2 separate regions of the Homo sapiens genome follow, and region 2 is linked to region 1. Evidence: promoter capture Hi-C in 16 types of primary human blood cells and fetal thymus (Javierre and others, 2016). All regions are on one chromosome and are shown on one strand. Each heading gives the region's core, a stretch centred on a gene start or on the middle of the fragment in contact. The rest is flanking DNA. Distances are from core to core; before and after follow the strand shown.

Region 1 (4,208 bases), core at 1,059-3,558:
GTAATCCCAGCACTTTGGGAGGCTGAGACAGGTGGATCACGAGGTCAAGAGACCAAGACCATCCTGACCAACATGGTGAAACCCTGTCTCTACTAAAAATACAAAAATTAGCTGGGCGTAGTGGCGGGCACCTGTAGTCCCAGCTACTGGGGATGCTGAGGCAGGAGAACCGCTTGAACCCGGGAGGTAGGGGTTGCAGTGAGCTGAGATTGCACCACTACACTCCAGCCTGGTGACTAAGCGAGACTCCATCTCAAAAAATTAAAATAAAATAAATAAATAAATAAATAAATAAAAGAGCCCAGTGTTGTGTTGGAACAGGAATTAAAACAGATTAAAGAATGTGTAAGCAGAAACTCAGTTGTATGTAAGAAAACCCAATTCCCCCTGAGAACAAGAAAGAGCTGGAGTCTTTTAAAAATTAACTGCCTGTTTTTCTGTGGCTAGTGAGCCTTATCTCTCCTCCCTTCCCAGGCATTGTGAAGGCCCTGTTTCCCTAGTTGTGCAGCTGCAAGTTCACTAGACAGATAAACTCAAGTTGCAAAACATGTTTTGCCTTGAAAAGTAAGAAATGATGTAATGCACGTCTCAATTAATTGAATAACTCTCTTTGTCTCTCGCTTCTGTAATATGCTTCCCCCTGCACAGATCTCCCCCGGCCCCACAAAATGCTTCAAAGGTAACTTAACTCTTTGTTCAGGGCTCAGTCCTTTGGGTGTTAATCGGACTGGGCTGGTGCAGCTAAATAATAAATATCCTCCTGAACCCCATCGGTCTCTCTGATTCCTTATCAATCTCGCTACAGTGTCGTTTGAGAAAAGAACTGAGCACCTTGATCACTGTCAGTAGCATCTGTAACCCCAAGGGAAGGGCGGGTCTTGGTGAAACCCTGTATTGTGGCTCAGCAGGAGAACGTCTGGTGGGATTGGTAAGGAATATTTGCATTTAAGTGGCTTCCGTGATCACAGTATACGGAATAGCCTCTGCAAAGGTGGGCGGGGACCCTATAAAATCTATTTGCTCTCAGCCCTACCAACAGGCTTCCAGGGATTATGCCTCCTTGATTATATGTCATTTGCCTGTAGACTATTCATCTGCCTGCACATTGAGCGCTCAGCTGTGGTGTTTGAGTTTTCATAGGTACACAGATATTCGTGACCTTGATTTTTACTTGAGAAACTGTGAGGCAAAATATCCCCAGAGTGCTTTAACCTCAAAATATTGACCTAGGATACAGTTGTTGCCACAGTTTTTTTTAAGTGTGTTTTCGGTTTTTTTGTTTTGTTTTGTTTTCTATGTTTTTGTTGTTGTTGTTGTTTTTGAGACGGAGTTTCCCTCTTGTTGCCTAGGCTGAGTGCAGTGGGGCAATCTCAGCTCACTGCAACCTCCGCCTTCCAGGTTCAAGCGATTCTTCCCCCTTAGCCTCCGAGTAGCTGGGATTACAGGCACCCACCACCACACCCGGCTAATTTTTTGTATTTTTAGTAAAGACAGGGTTTCATCATGTTGGCCACACTGGTCTCAAACTCCTGACCTCAGGTGATCCACCCACCTTGGCCTCCCAAAGTGCTGTGATTACAGGCATGAGCCACCGCGCCCGGCTGGCTAGACCATTGCTAATGGCTCAAGAGTTCAGTTCTAGCAATTGTGCTGACCCTAGTTAGGGAATGGTAAAGCTTTCGTTGGTCACTCACTTGACCCCATGGGCCTCCCCAGGTGTCTACTGGTCAGGAGAGAGAGGGGACCTCCTCCAGTGTCATGGAATCTGACAACAGACTGAGGACAGAAGAAGCTGCTTTTTTCTACGGTGGATACCCCAAGGGCCCAGGTTTCCCTCTAAGTCAGTACCACTTTCATTTCAGGAAGGAGACCACCGTGGATGGGGGCTGCTGCCTGCAGGACCCGAGACCTGAAAACTGACCAATCAGGCAGCTGGGGTGGGGCCTAGAGAACTGACCAATCAGGGGAGTTGAGGTGGAGCATCCGGATGAGAACTGTCAATCAGGGGGGTTGGGGCAGAGCCTGGAGACCTGTCAAATCAAAGGAGCTGAGGCAGGGCGTGGAAACATGACCAATTAGGAAAGCTGGGGTGGGGCCTGAAGAACTGCCCAATCAGGGGAGCTCAGGGGATAGCAAGCTGACCAACCAGAAGAGGAGGGGCAGAGTCTAAAGAACTGTCCAATCAGGGGAGTTGGGATGTGACTGGTGAACTCTCCAATCAGAGATGAGCAGAGAAGAGAACCATCCAATCACAGCCCCAGGGGCGGGGCGTTGCTGTCCTCCCTGCAGAGCACACCCGGCCTGCCCTGAGTGACCACAGGTGTCCCCGTCGTGCTCACCTGCACCGGCTGCGAGGAGCAGGGAGCTCCTCAAAGAGCTCAGGAACGGACAGGACATGGTGAGTGCAGGGCAGGAGCCGAGCCGGAGCCGGAGCCCTGGGAGGGGAGGGTTGGAAGCGGCCAGAACACGCTGAAACTCCCGGGGGAGCCGCCCGGAACCCCCATGCAGCCTCTGTCCCTGTGTCACCCCCGGGTCCTGCGGGGAGTTTCCTCCCCTGCCCCAGTCTTCATTCCCTGGAAAGTCGTAGTTGTCAGGACGCTGGGATGGAGGGGAAAAAAAGGCAGAAATGACTCCTGCCCTGTGGGGTCTCGCGAAGTTAATTGGAAGAAAAACTAACCCAAAGTACAAAAAACAAAACAAAAAAAAAAAAAACCTCACCCCAGCGAGGCGGTGCAACAGCCCCAAAGCAGAATGCGCTTTGGATGCAGACTTTGGGCCCAGGCCCACGTCCCTGGGAGGGGCGAGGGGTGGACAGGTGGTGCGGGCGCTCCACGTGGCGGCACGGGCTGGCCTGACCCCAAAGGCCCGCAGGCCGGACTCCAGCCCAGCCGCCCCTGCCTGGGCCTCTCTCCTTCTAAAGATTGATTTGGTTACTTGAGCCTCAGATTTTTTCAGTCAATGGAACATACAGTAAATAATAGAGTTTGAAAGATAAAATATTTCCAAGGAGGTGAATTTCAGAAAAAAATAAAGTTCTCGTCTTACATTCCATTTGTTAAAAATTCTAGCGTGCCTTTTTTTTTTCTTTTTATTTTCTGTTCCTTTTTTGCCCGTGTGGTTAAGTTTCTCACATCTGTTGTTTTATTTTCGGTGATGACAAATGGGATTCCAGGGCTTAGCCCTTGACGGGGCTCCCGGGAAAAAGAATCGCAGAGAAAGAGAGAAAATCTCTCTTTTATTATGACACGCCCCGAAATGAATACATTCCTACAAGAAAAAAATGTTTGGTATATAATTTGGTGAATTACAAAAACTCGCTAAAATATCAGTTATTCTCCTTTTCCAGGATGGAGAATTTGTGATAGATGATAATTCTGTTCTTTTATTTTTTGTTTTTATTTTTTGAAACGGAGTCTTGCTCTGTCACCCAGGCTGGAGTGCAGTGGCGCGATCTCGGCTCACTGCAACCTCCGCCTCCTGAGTTCAAGCGATTGATTCTCCTGCCTCAGCCTCCCCAGCAGCTGGGACTACAGGTGTGTGCCACCACGTCCAGCTAATTTTTGTATTTTTAGTGGAGACAGGGTTTTACCATGTTGGCCAAGCTGGTCTCCAACTCCTGACCTCAGGTGATCCACCCGCCTTGGCCTCCCAGAATGCTTGGATTACAGGCAGCATGTGCCACCATGACTAGCTAATTTTTTTTTTTTTTTCAGATGGAGCCTCGCTCTGTCACCCAGGCTGGAGTGCAATGGCGCGATCTCTGCTTACTGCAACCTCCGCCTCCTGGGTTCAAGCGATTCTCCTACCTCAGCCTCCCGAATAGCTGGGATTACAGGCACGTGTGGCCACACCCAGCTAATTTTTGTATTTTTAGTAGAGACGGGGTTCCACCATGTTGGCCAGGCTGGTCTCGAACTCCTGACCTCAGCTGATCCACCCACCTCAGCCTCCCAAAGTGCTGGGATTACAGGCGTGAGCCACCACACCTGGCCCCTTTATCACTCTTTTATATTCACTCATAGGGATATATTGTTAGTGTTCATTAATTCCACTGCTTGCTAGTGACTATTCGGGTATTTTCAAATTTTTTCCATTGTGACCAGTGCCCCTAAAGACATTATTACATGTGTGTCCACTTGAATGCCTTATTCTCAGCTGCACTGCAGTATATCCTCATCCTCTCCCCAAGAGCCTGGTCCACATATTAC
Region 2 (4,216 bases), core at 1,443-3,942, 430 kb before region 1:
GCTGATGGGGAGGGGGTTCTTTTTGGGTGATGGAATGTTCTAGAATTAGAGGTGGTGGTTGCACAACCCTGTGGAGATCCTGCCAATGCTGAACTGTACACTTTAAAAAGGTGGACTTAAAATAGCCAGGTGTGGTGGCGGGCACCTGTGGTCCCAGCTACTCAGGAGGCTGAGACAAGAGAATCGCTTGACCTTGGGAGGTTGCAGTGAGCCAGGATCGCACCATTGCACTCCAACCTGGGTAACAAAGTGAGACTGCGTCTCAAAAAAAAAAAAAGTGACTCTCTCTTATAAAAGCCATTATTGAAGAAAGCGGGCCAGGCGTGGTGGCTCATGCCTGTAATCCCAGCACTTTGGGAGGCTGAGGCAGGCAGATCACGAGGTCAGGAGTTCGAGACCAGCCTAGCCAACATGGTGAAACCCCATCTCTATTAAAAATACAAAAATTAGGCCGGGCACAGTGGCTCAAGCCTGTAATCCCAGCACTTTGGGAGGCTAAGACAGGTGGATCATGAGGTCAGAAGTTCAAGACCAGCCTGACAAACATGGTGAAAACCCCGTCTGTACTAAAAATACAAAAATTAGTCGGGTTGGTGGCACCCGCCTATAATCCCAGCTACTCAGGAGGCTGAGGCAGGAGAATCGCTTGAACCCAGGAGGCGGAGGTTGCAGTGAGCTGAGATCATGCCACCGTACTCCAGCCTGGGTGACAGAGCAAGACTCCGTCTCAAAAGAAAAAAATTAGCTGGGTGTGGTGCTGTGCACCTATAATCCCAGCTACTCGGGAGGCTGGGCCCAGTGTGGGCAACAGAGCAAGACTCCATCTCAAAAACAAAACAAAACAAAACAAAACAAAACAAAAACAGTAGAAACGCTTCTGAAGGAAGCTGGCCACCTTTGCAGTCAGCAAGGCGGGTAGCCCAGGCAAGCAGAGCCCTGCGGGCCGCGCACCCACCTCCACGGCCGCCCTCCCGCCTCCACGGCCGCGCACCCGCCTGCACAGCCGCCCTCCCGCCTTCACGGCTGCGCACCCACCTCCACGGCCGCTCACCCACCTGCACTGCCGCCCTCCCACCCCCACAGCCGCGCACCCACCTCCACGGCCGCCCTCTCGCCTCCACGGCCACCCTCCCGCCACCACGGCCGCGCACCCACCTCCACGGCCGCCCTCCCGCCACCACAGCCGCGCACCCACCTCCACGGCCGCCCTTCCGCCCCCACGGCCGCCCTCTCCAGGACTCCGCACCCTGTGGGCTGCACAGGCCTGCATCATCAAGCTCCCTACCGCAGCTCCCTGTGAGGGCCCCTCCAGGGCCTCTTCCCGGCCCCTGCACCGCCTTCGTGGGTCTTTTCCCAGGTGCCCTGTGGGTTCCACCTGGGGCACGTTCCTGGGCCCCCGCACAGAAGCTCTCGTGAGTCTCTTCACGGGCTGTCTCACAGGTTTCCCCACAGGCCCCTTCACAACTGCCCTGGCGGCCTCCCCTCTGGCTCCTGTGGGGCCCCCCCCACTCCCTGGGCCTGGCCAGAGCGGGGCGCAGCTCCTGAGCGGCCTGGACATCCCTCCACCAGCAGCCAGCAGCTCTCCCTGGGCAGGGAGTGTGGGCCCGGCCGGCCCCGGCATTCCACCCTGCACTGTGACAGCACAATTGGTTCTAAAGGACACAGGCTGACGCCTTTCCTCCCCACTCCCCTCTCCGAGCCCCCGGAGGCAGAGGCCCCAGGTGAGGGGCTGCAGGTCAGGGAAGGAGGCTGGGTGGGGAGAGCGGGCCTCACCCTCGCTTTGGACAAGGAGGCCCTGTGGGAGGCTGGACGGTGGCACCCAGAAGATGCACCTGACGCCTGCCTCATGGTCTAGCAGTTAGGATCCCAGGCGGCCAGGGTTCAGCTCTCAGGGTGGGAACACCAAGCTTTTAGAAAGGCAAGAAATCAAAATAGACCTTCCTTGACACTGAAGAGATATGTTTTGGCTGGGCATGGTGACTCACGCCTGGAATCCCAGCAGTTTGGGAGGCCGAGGCGGATGAAGCACCTGAGGTCAGGAGTTCGAGACCAGCCTGGCCAACGTGGTGAAACCTCGTCTCTACTAAAAATACATAAATTACCTGGGCATGGTGGTGCACGCCTATAATCCAGCTACTCGGGAGGCTGAGGCAGGAGAATTGCTTGAACCTGGGAGGCGGAGGTTGCAGTGAGCCAAGATCGTGCCACCGCACTCCAGCATGGGTGACAGAGTGAAACTCCATCTCAAAAAAAGACGTGCCCACATCCCGATCCCCAGCAGCTGTGAATGGACCTTATTTGGAAATGGGGTCTCTGCAGATGCCATTAGGTCACTCTGGATGATCCAGGCAGGCCCCAAATCCAATGACAAGTGTCCTTGTAGGATACACAGAGTATGGACACAGGGGAGGCAGCCGCGGGAAGACAGAGGCAGACACTGGGGAGACGCAGCCGAAGCCAAGGGCACCCTAAGAGGCAGGAAGGAGCCTCCCTAGAGCCGTGGGAGGGACCCCGGCCACACGGTGCCCTCAGGCTTCCGCCCTCCACAGCCATGAGGGTGGACTTTGCGTTTCCGCTGTGCCAGGCTGGAGGCCAGGCCACTCACTCACCTCCTCGAACACACTCTTCCGGAAGTCCAGCTCCTCCTGCAGGCTCTGGCAGCGGTTCTCCAGGTCCACACGCATCAGCGTCTCCTTCTCCAGCTGCTTTTTGGCCACTGCATGACCGTCCTCGGCCTGGGAGACACAGGACAGCGAGCTGGTGTGACAATCTGTCTGTTGCATATACCCTGCTGGGGCGTCCCGTGGCTCCTGGCACCTACCTTGGCCAGCTGGGCCCGCAGCTCAGCCACGTCACTCTCCAGGCCGCGCTTGTCGCTGAGGGCAGCTGCCAGCTCCACCTCGCTCCGGTGGAACAGGGACTCCAGGTCCTTCACACGGCCCTGGGCCACCGTAAGCTCGCCCTCCCTCTTCTTGGCGCTGAAAGTCAAGAGGGCAAGTGAGTGGGGAGGGGCAAGGTCCATGGGGCCACAGGGAGCACCTCAGGGGGCGTCAGGCAAGCCCAAAGACAAGGTCACCGAGGCCTCCGAGCCCCAGACCTTCCCGTCCTGCAGACGACGCGGCCCCACGCGCCCAGGCAAAGGCACACGTGCCCTCATCATCTGCCCTGCACTGTCAGGAGTCCAGCAAGTGACAGGCACCAGCGCTTGGGACCACCCTGGAGGCATGGGCTTTCCCAGCCTCTCCTGCCTGTTCTGGACCCAGGACGACCATTTGGGGAGAAATTAATGCATCCTCTGTAAATGTTACAAAGACCCTGGCCTTTGAAGGGTCAGCCTTGTTTGTAAACTTAAGCTGTCTGAAGCAGGCTCACCTGGTTTTCCACTAAACCAAATTAGCTCCAACATTAGATATTTAAGATAGCAAATACTCAGGCTTTTTAAACACACAAATACTACCAGTGTGGATTGTAGGCACTTAAGCTTTTTTTTTTTTTTTTTTTTTTTTTTTTTTAAGAGACAGGGGTTCACTTGTTTGCACAGGCTGGTCTCGAACTCCTGGGCTCAAGGAATCCTCCTGTCTCAGCCTCCCAAAGTGCTGGGATTACAGGTGCGAGCCACCGCGTACGGCTGACTCTTAAATGTTTTTAAGCATAATTATAAGTCTTGGAGCTGAATTTTACCCCCTCCCGACAGGGAACTAACTATATCCTCCCAAGAAACAGTGAGGACACCCAGGGTTCCGCAGCGTCACAACTGCTGACATCTGGGGTGGTCTTGAGTGAGGGCACCCAGGGTTCTGCAGCGTCACAACTGCTGACATTTGGGGTGGTCGAGTGAGGACATCCAGGGTTCCGCAGCGTCACAACTGCTGACATTTGGGGTGGTCCTAGGCACTGCAGGGTGCTGAGCACTGTCCCTGGCCTCCACCCACTTCAGACCAGGAGCTTCTTGCTGCCCAGTTTTGACAACCACAAGTGTCCCCAGGAATCACCCAGTGTCCCCTGGGGACAGAATCACCCCAGGATGGGGACAACTGGGTGTATCTGGAATAACACAGCCAAGGCTGCTGGCTGGACATTCAAAGAACATCCACATCCAGGCGGCTCGAGCCCGTGGCCAGAGGTCAGAAGTGACAGGGACCTCTCCTGCCCAGCAGAATGCACTCCCGACTCTCCCTAGAGCCTTTTTTTTTTTTTGAGTTGGAGTTTCGCTCTT

Evidence for each region. Contacts are between HindIII fragments. The CHiCAGO score rates a contact against its expected background, and 5 or more counts as called.
Region 2: a fragment that was not itself captured here is called in contact with the fragment with the promoter of ZNF556 in region 1 in 1 of 17 cell types (M2 macrophages); the score reaches 5.5 in M2 macrophages.

The regions. Positions count from the first base shown.
Region 1 is chr19:2,865,027-2,869,234 of GRCh38, forward strand. ZNF556 (zinc finger protein 556) reads left to right here and starts at 2,309. Exons shown (of 4, transcript NM_024967.3): 1 at 2,309-2,398. The coding sequence starts at 2,396. The HindIII fragment of the contact is 3,420 bases long and covers 1,675-4,208 here.
Region 2 is chr19:2,435,554-2,439,769 of GRCh38, forward strand. LMNB2 (lamin B2) reads right to left here. Exons shown (of 12, transcript NM_032737.4): 3 at 2,822-2,978; 4 at 2,610-2,735. Among named protein-coding and RNA genes, the nearest start is that of MIR7108, 2.7 kb to the left of the region's middle. The HindIII fragment of the contact is 1,574 bases long and covers 1,906-3,479 here.